3 separate regions of the Homo sapiens genome follow, and regions 1 and 3 are each linked to region 2. Evidence: promoter capture Hi-C in 16 types of primary human blood cells and fetal thymus (Javierre and others, 2016). All regions are on one chromosome and are shown on one strand. Each heading gives the region's core, a stretch centred on a gene start or on the middle of the fragment in contact. The rest is flanking DNA. Distances are from core to core; before and after follow the strand shown.

Region 1 (2,700 bases), core at 29-2,528, 7.6 Mb before region 2:
TTGAGAATCACTTTTTTAAACCAATGTTTAAGTCCAATCTAACCTACTTAACTATTAACAGTCTACCTGGCTATCTACCTGTGGTAGTGTAGTATGTAACAGCCCACAGCACACATGCTCAATTCCAAGCCTATCTGCTCTCCGCAATCAGTATATTCCTCCTGCAATTTATCATGGTATGAAAGGCCCAGTGATACACATATTTGGTCATTTTCAAATAGTGCCTGCCAGCATAGTGGCTCACACCAGTCATCCCAGCACTTTGGTAGGGTGAGGCGAGATGATCATTTGAGCTCAGGAGTTTGAGAACAGCCCGGACAACATGGCGAAACCCCATTTCTACAAAAAAAAAAAAAAAATTAGCCAGCGGTAGTGGCGTGCTACTTGGGAGGCTGAGGTGGGAGGATCCCCTGACCCCTGGAAAGTGGAGACTGCAGTGAGCCATGACTGCACCACTGCACTCCAGTCTGGGCGACAGAGACAGACCCTGTCTGAAAAAAAAGTGCCCTTCACAGAAGCTTCCTCAGGGTATTAGCATGAGCATGTGAAAGTACAGTATGTTTATCAAACACATAAAATAAGCAGTTATAAATAACGTCAGAATAACACAAGGAGGCCAATTATCAAAATGAAAGGCTAGTTTTGCATGCTGTGCTTTGCGGAGAGAAGGAAGAGGGAGTTTTCATGTTATTACACTTTTGATAGCAGAATCCTATATTTTGGTGCAGAGGTGGCAAAATAAGGCGGGGGGTGCTGGTGCGCAGAAGCTGACAAGGTTAGAATGTGCAGCGTTTTTACGACGGACTGGCTTTACTCATTTCCTGCCTCACTTCTCTCCTATCTGTATAGGTTTTTCTTTTCGTCCTCCTCTACCAGTACGCTCCCGCCTGCCGCGCTCCGCCCTTGTGCGGCGCACGATCGGAGTCAGTGATTAAGCCGGCTCCAAGACAAAGCGGAGGCCGAGCCCAGGAAGCAAGCGCGCTCTCCGCCCCGCCTGGAGGGAGGGCCCAACCACAGCACAGCCGCGCTCACTCCTCACCCGGACGTGACCTAGTTCTCACAGAGGCCCGGCCTCTTCCGCCACAACTCCGGCCCGCGGTCCCGCCCCGTTCCGTGAATGGTCGGCCGGCCTCAGGTCAAAAAAGCGTTTAGGTGTCTGCGACGGAGCCTCCGGAGAAAGGCAAGCACGTCGCAGCCAATGAGGTGATAGAAACGCAAAGCAGCGACCAATGACTAGCTGAGTTGGGCTGGGCCGGCCGACGAATCACGAGGCTTCGCACCCGGATATGGTTATGGGCTCGGAAATCTAGTTCGGGAAAAGTGTGAGGGGCTCTTCACGTGGGGAAGGAACAGCAGGCGCGGAGGAGGGGGCAAGCGTGTGTGAGATTCAGTGGTCCATGCGTGCGTTTGTCGTGTAAGGGTCATTCCTGGGGTTTGGAGTGGGGGAACAAATCAATGTGGCTGTTTTTCCGTGGAAAGAATTCCCACTGCAGTGTCCCGGAGCCTGCGTGTGGTGGGCAAGCTCCTCAAATGGTATCTCACAGGGAATAGGGGAGTCTTGAAAACGCAGCTTCGGCAGTAGGAACATGAACCTCTTACCTAAAAGTTCCAGGGAGTTTGGCTCCGTTGACTATTGGGAGAAGTTCTTCCAGCAGCGAGGAAAGAAAGCTTTCGAGTGGTATGGAACCTACCTGGAACTGTGCGGGGTGCTACATAAATATATCAAGCCCAGGGAAAAGGTGAGGAGCGCGGGTTGGTAGCCCTTCGTACGTGCTCCGGAAGGTGGGAACTGGTAACAGGAATCTTGCACTTGGTGGACAGTGACAGGCGGGAGGACCCTAGTTGGACGCATATTTCAGCATTTCCTGCATTGTTCCTGCTAAAAGACAAACTAGAATATTCTTTCAGGCCGGGCGCAGTGGCTCACACCTGTAATCCGAACACTTTGGGAGACCGAGGTGGGAGGATCGCTTGAGCCCTGGAGTTAAAGACCAGCCTGGGGAACATGAGACCTCGTCTCTACAAAAAATGAAAAAATTAGCCGGGCGTGGTGGCGCGCATCTGTATTTCCAGCTACTCGGGAGGCTTAGGCGGGAGGATCGCTTGAGCCCAGGAGGTCGAGGCTGCAGTGAGCCATGATCACGCCACTGCACTCCAGCCTGGGTGACAGAGTGAGACCCTGTCTAAAAAAAAAAACATTTCTTTAAAGGTTTTCAGATAATAGACCTCCCACCCCAGCTCATTCTTGGATTAATAACCCTACTTGAAGAGTGACTTCCCATCTTGAAAGTATGTTCTTCTGTCACTGTGCATTCCTGTGCAACCTGCAGCAGGTGTGACTTTGTGTATGAATTTGTTTTTCAAATAGTCGTTGAGTGCGCCCCAAGTTTCAGGCACTGCTCAGTCCTTAAACTATAAGAGCATTAAGACGTAAACCCTGCACATGTTCCAGAAGTGAAACGTGATAAGTACAACAATGGGTTTGGTATAGGTGAGATTGTACTGGAGGTAGGGAAGGAGGAAGGTAGAAAACTTAACATTTGTGGGGAAGCTTTATGTGCCAAGCCTTATGTTGGGTGCTGTGTATGTGCATGTGCAATCTTTGAATTCTCATCATAAATTCAGGTGAGTGGCCATGCATACATTTTACAGATGAGGAAACTGAGGCCCCGAGAGCCACTTTTTTTTTTTTTTTTGCCC
Region 2 (2,700 bases), core at 122-2,621:
ACCGCAACCCTTTCCTCCCCGGTTCAAGCGAATCTCCTGCTTCAACCTCCTGAGTAGCTGGGATTACAGGCGCGCGCCACCTCTCTTGGCTAATTTTTGTGTTTTTAGTAGAGACGGGGTTTCACCATGTTGGTCAGGCTGGTCTCGAACTCCTGACCTCGTGATCCACCCGCCTCGGCCTAAGAAAGTGCTGGGATTACAGGCGTGAGCCACCGGCCGCTGATGGTATTCTTTCCTGAGGGCAGATTTTCACGCCAGAAGCCCCGACAATTATACCTGAGCTGGTTCCACCTAAGCTCAATCCTCCTTCCCTGCCCCAAGGGGGTGAAAAATCTGGGCCCAGGAGGCCTTCCTTGTGCTCTGGGGGGAGGCATTTAAGGGTCCAAGGAAGACGTGACCGAAATGTAAAGCACTGGACGGCTTACCCAATAAGGGACCCAGCGTTTCTTATTACCCAACATCCCCCTGAGTCTGGCTTTTAGAAAAATATGCAAAGCGTCCGGGCGCAGTGGCTCACGCCTATGATCCCAGCACTTTGGAAGGCCGAGGCGGGCGCGGTCAGGAGTTTGAGACCAGCCTGGCCAATATGGTGAAACCCCGTCTCTACTAAAAATACAAAAATTAGCCGGGCATGGTGGCCCCCGCCTGTAGTCCCTCGGGAGGCTGAGGCAGGAGAATCGCTTGAACCTGGGAGGCGGAGGTGGCAGTGAGCTGAGATCGCACCATTGCACTCCAGCCAGCGCGACAGAACGAGACTCCGTCTCAAACAAAACAAAACAAAAAACAAACTACAAAATTAGCCGGGCATGGTGGCGTCTGCCTGTAGTCCCAGCTGCTTGGGAGGCTGAGGCAGGAGAATTGCTTGAACCCAGGAGGTGGAGGTTGCAGTGAGCCGAGATCGCACCATTAAACTCCAGCCTGGGCGACAAGAGGGAAATTCCGTCTCAGGGGAAAAAAAGAGAAAGAAAGAAAAAGAGGAAGAAAGAGAAAGAAAAATATGCAAAGCAACAAAAAAGAGAGCTAGAAAGATGGAAACAACTCAGAAGACCCTTGCTTAACCCGCGTGCGTCACGGGCTACAGGGGTCGGCCCCTCGAGCTAACCCCCACCGGCGCCTGCGCACTGGCCTGGCCCGCGGCAGGAAGCCCCGGCGTGAGACACTTTCGGATTCCGTGACAACGGCGGGATTAAACGTTTTTCTTCTCCTTTGCTACTGAACCTATGCTGTGACTTAGAACATAAGAAACTCCAAGAGGGTGTAGGGATTGTCTTAGCTGTCTCCCTCCTCCGCCGGCACCGCTGAAGGCAGCCCCTATGGAGGGCGCTAAACCTCGGGGCCCTGGGTTTCTATGACGACAAACAGGCGTTCCAGCAAAGGAGGAAGTGAGCGGATGCTGGGCGGGTACGCAATGTGTGGGTAGGATCGCGGGTGTCCCTTTCCCGTCATTTTAAACCAAGAAGCAGTGCGAGGCCTGCCCAACTCGCGAGTTTGTGGAACTGGCGCGCGAGAGCGCTGCCTGTGGGGAAGGTATGGTCCCCAGCCGAGCCGCCTGCAGCGAGTGTCCCCCACCAGGGGTGCCGGCGGTCTGCGGGGTCCGCCGAGCGGGTCCTTCCTGCCCTGCTCCTTGACCCCGACCTGACGGTCCACTAAGGCTTCTTAGTCGCTACACATAACCCCAGAACATAGAGGTCGCCCCGAAGAAGGAGAACCATGCTAGATGAATTCTAAACTGCGATCTGAACCTAAGTACTCAATAGTTGTCATCTTTTTTTTTTTTTTTAAATCTTTTTTCCTCTGCCTGCAGGACTATGTGGCAGCCTGCAAGTCCCAGTGCGGCGCTGATTTGTGTCTAAATTAGCTTTCCGGAGGACTATTTCAAATTACTAAAGAGATAGGAGGCATTGTTTATTATGTCTCTCCCGAAAACGCCCTCCACCCCGCTAAACTCTACATCAACATCTGAGAGCAAAAAGTTAAAAGTGTCTGTAGCCAAGGAAGGGACAAGAGGTAAACTTCGTTGATTCTGAAGTCATAAACAGTCATGGCCGTAAGACAGAAATCACCTTCCATTCACCGGTTTTTTAAATCTGATATTCAGAATACCTTGATTGGCTACATTTTTCTAACACACTTGCTTAAATAAAGCAAGAAGTCATTCCTTTTACAGTATTTTGAGTCAGAGTACTGTTTCACTACTCCATCTAAATACAGTTTATACTTTTTTTCAAATGTTGATTTATATATGATTTTAAATTCAACCTATTTTAAATATCAATAGTTACGTATTTTTTGGTTCCTGGTCTTTGGCTTTAAGGAACTTTGGAAAAAGTAATAGTGAGGCAGGGCGCGGTGGCTCACGCCTGTAATCCCAGCACTTTGGGAGGCCGAGGTGGGCGGATCACTTGAGGTCAGGAGTTCGAGACCAGCCTGGCCAAATATGATGAAATCCCGTCTCTACTAGAAATACAAAAATTAGCCGGGCATGGTGGCTCGCGCCTGTAGTCCCAGCTTACTCTGGAGGCTGAGGCAAGAGAATCGCTTGAACCCAGGAGGTGAGGTTGCAGTGAGCCAGGATCGAGCCATTGCATTCCAGTCTGGGAGACAAGAGCAAGACCCCATCTCAAAATAAATAAATAAATAGGCCGGGCACAGTGGCTCACACCTGTAATCCCATTTGGGAGGCTGAGGCTGGCGGATCAC
Region 3 (2,700 bases), core at 122-2,621, 8.8 Mb before region 2:
CATTTCAACTTTTCTTGACGTGTTTTATTTTGTACTTTACTCCTTTCTTTCATTTTGTTTAAAAATATCAACACACTAAAGCCAAAGTATTTTAAAATGTAAGCCAAGATGAGGTGTTTTGTTGTTCTTACTGCAAAAATAGTGAAAGAGAACCATGAAAAATAGTATAACTAGGTCTCTCTTGAATCATCCTTATCTATGTGTATTTTGACAACGCTTGCATCTTTTAATCTTTGCAACCATATTTCAAATGAGGAAATGGGATCTCAGGTTAGTGTTCAAGGCAGAACCCGAATTACGGTATTAGGATTCCAGGCAGGATCCTAAGAAATGCTTTCCCATCCCCCAGCACCGACGTTTTACAATGTCTTCTCTGAAAAACAGATTTAAAGGGGAGACTAAGAAATCCCGGCCGGGCGCAGTGGCTCACGCTTGTAATCCCAACACTTTGGAAGCCCGAGGCGGGCGGATACCCTAAGGTCAGGAGTTCGAGACCAGCCTGGCTAACATGGTGAAACCCCGTGTCTACTAAAAATACAGAAAATTAGCCGGGTGTGGTGGCCGGCGCCTGTAATCCCAGCTACTCGGGAGGCTGAGGCGGGAGAATCGCTTGAACCCGGGAGGCGGAGGTTGCAGTGAGCCGAGATCGTGCTATTGCACTCCAGCTTGTGCAACAAGAGCGAAACTATGTCTCAAAAAAAAAAAAAAAAAAAAGTAAGAAAAAAAGAAAAAGAAATCCCTTAAGAGGAAAGTTACATATTATAATTATTCACAAAGGAAACAACCCAAAGCAAAAGAAATCTGAGAGCCGCTCCGGCCTGCGAGAGACCTGGTTATGCCTGTTCCCTTTTCATCAATTATACCCCACCCCTTTTAAATGTTTCTTCATCATCAAAATCCTAAATCTGATCATTTCCTGAGTTAATCTGAAGGAGGCCTCCAGCGCTGTGCACACTCCCAGCAAAACACAAGGATTTTAGGGCACACTAAGAGCCACAGAGAGCACCGCTCCCGCCCCACAGGTACAGGACCCCAAAGGCACTTAGATCTCCCGTTTCCGCCACCGACTTGTTGCTCCTTCCCAAATACCTGTTTATCTCCACCCTTATCCCCATCGCCATTTCCCCCCTTAGCTCCTGAAGCGATTAACCAGCAACAGTGAGAAACAATGAGAGAGAGAGAGAGTAGAGGTAAGCCAGAGGAAACGAATGTCTGCGTGGCAAGGTTTCCTTAGGCAGTTTGTCAGGCACTGCTGAAGGCAGCCTGGAAGGAAGCCGGACCCTGAGGCCGGGGAGAGAGGGCCTTGTGTTTGGAGCCCGATGCACTGATTGGCCGCGGCCGGGGAAAAACCCGGATGAGCTGGGCAGCAGTGTTGGCAGTCGCGGCTGCGAGATTTGGGCACTTTTGGGGGTGCCGGTGGCCCGGGCCGATGGCGCAAGGTTGGGCAGGATTCTCTGAGGAGGAACTGAGGAGACTAAAGCAGACTAAAGGTTACAAGATGGGTTTACAGTGGTTTAATTCTTGGGTCTTAAGGGGAAGAGGCGGGGATGCAGCTTTGGCGGGGAAAGGGGGCGTGGAAGCGGCTACGTTTGTGTTAGCGGAAGGCGCTGTAAGTACGTGGACTGGATTAGGGGGTTTCAGAGGAGGACTTACTGGGAGTCACGACGGGAGGGGCAAGCCAGAGGACTGGGATCTTCTTTTAGAAAAAACGGTCCAGGAATCCACTGTAGGGATTTGACTCTTGTGAAAGGAATGGGACTTGGGAGAGGAAGTGAGCCTACAGCCGGGGTGTCTCCCTTAGGGAAGATTGCTGCAGGAATCAACGGTTGGAAGGTTAGGGTCAGGGTAAGGGAAGGAGGAGGGGCGCACACCGTATTAGAATTGTGATGAATTTATAGAAGCAGATGGTTGGAAAAAAGGAGCACAGGCGTCTGAATAAAGGCAAAAATTCGGTACTTTTCACAATTCATCTGGAGTGTTGCATTCACTTCTGGTTGCCAGATGATTTTTGCAGTACTTCCCAATTTTTGAGAATCAGCAAACCAAAAGGGTCTTTGAGAGGGTAGATGTGAAGACTTTATATGTTTATATACATACAGTCTTACTGACTTTGGAGTAAGCTAACCTTGTGCTTCTCTCTCTGGCTTTATAGAGTAATCATTGAATGGGCTTGTACAATTTTTTTGTTGTTGTGGAAGGAATTAAGTTTGCTGATTGTTGGTGGAAAACTTAGTAATATTAATTGCACTTTGCTTGTGGTTGAAATTTCGCAGTGATCTGTATGGTTATCGTGGTAGTACACACAATTTCTGTAAGAAGTGTACATCACTCTTGGTACCTTAATTCAAATACTTTATTTTGGTAGCAAATGAAGTAAACCTTTTGTTAGCGTTTGTGGGGAAATTGGATGTTGCTCTGGTAGCTTGTGCATTTTTAGCATAAATATGAGAATAATCTAGGGCAGACAAGTGGGAAAAGAAGTAAATTAGTAAGATAGGGCCAATGTAGATTATATCGACTGGGGACATTTTGACTGGTCCAGGGGACTTTAAAAACTCTATCATAAAGGTTAGGCTAAGCTATGTAGTTAACTGACTCTGTGTTGCTTGATATACTCAAATTCTTTTGCTTTGTGTTTTCAACATCCATTCACATACTTTGATATACAGGGTACAAGTGCCCTGGCCTCTGGTCTGACTC

The links. Contacts are between HindIII fragments. The CHiCAGO score rates a contact against its expected background, and 5 or more counts as called.
Region 1: the fragment with the promoter of METTL13 here is called in contact with the fragment with the promoter of AXDND1 in region 2 in 2 of 17 cell types (total CD4 T cells and naive CD8 T cells); the score reaches 7.2 in total CD4 T cells.
Region 3: the fragment with the promoter of GORAB here is called in contact with the fragment with the promoter of AXDND1 in region 2 in 1 of 17 cell types (non-activated CD4 T cells); the score reaches 5.9 in non-activated CD4 T cells.

Annotation. Positions count from the first base shown.
Region 1 is chr1:171,780,382-171,783,081 of GRCh38, forward strand. METTL13 (methyltransferase 13, eEF1A N-terminus and K55) reads left to right here and starts at 1,279. Exons shown (of 8, transcript NM_015935.5): 1 at 1,279-1,739. The coding sequence starts at 1,587. RefSeq lists enhancers at 968-1,262, 1,092-1,625. The HindIII fragment of the contact is 1,150 bases long and covers 517-1,666 here.
Region 2 is chr1:179,364,600-179,367,299 of GRCh38, forward strand. It overlaps AXDND1 (axonemal dynein light chain domain containing 1), which reads left to right and starts at 1,372. Exons shown (of 26, transcript NM_144696.6): 1 at 1,372-1,401; 2 at 1,805-2,007. The coding sequence starts at 1,911. RefSeq lists enhancers at 923-1,322, 1,703-1,772. The HindIII fragment of the contact is 9,843 bases long and covers 1-2,700 here.
Region 3 is chr1:170,530,795-170,533,494 of GRCh38, forward strand. GORAB (golgin, RAB6 interacting) reads left to right here and starts at 1,372. Exons shown (of 5, transcript NM_152281.3): 1 at 1,372-1,490. The coding sequence starts at 1,430. GORAB-AS1 (GORAB antisense RNA 1) reads right to left here and starts at 1,815. Exons shown (of 3, transcript NR_125958.1): 1 at 1,654-1,815. The HindIII fragment of the contact is 10,464 bases long and covers 1-2,700 here.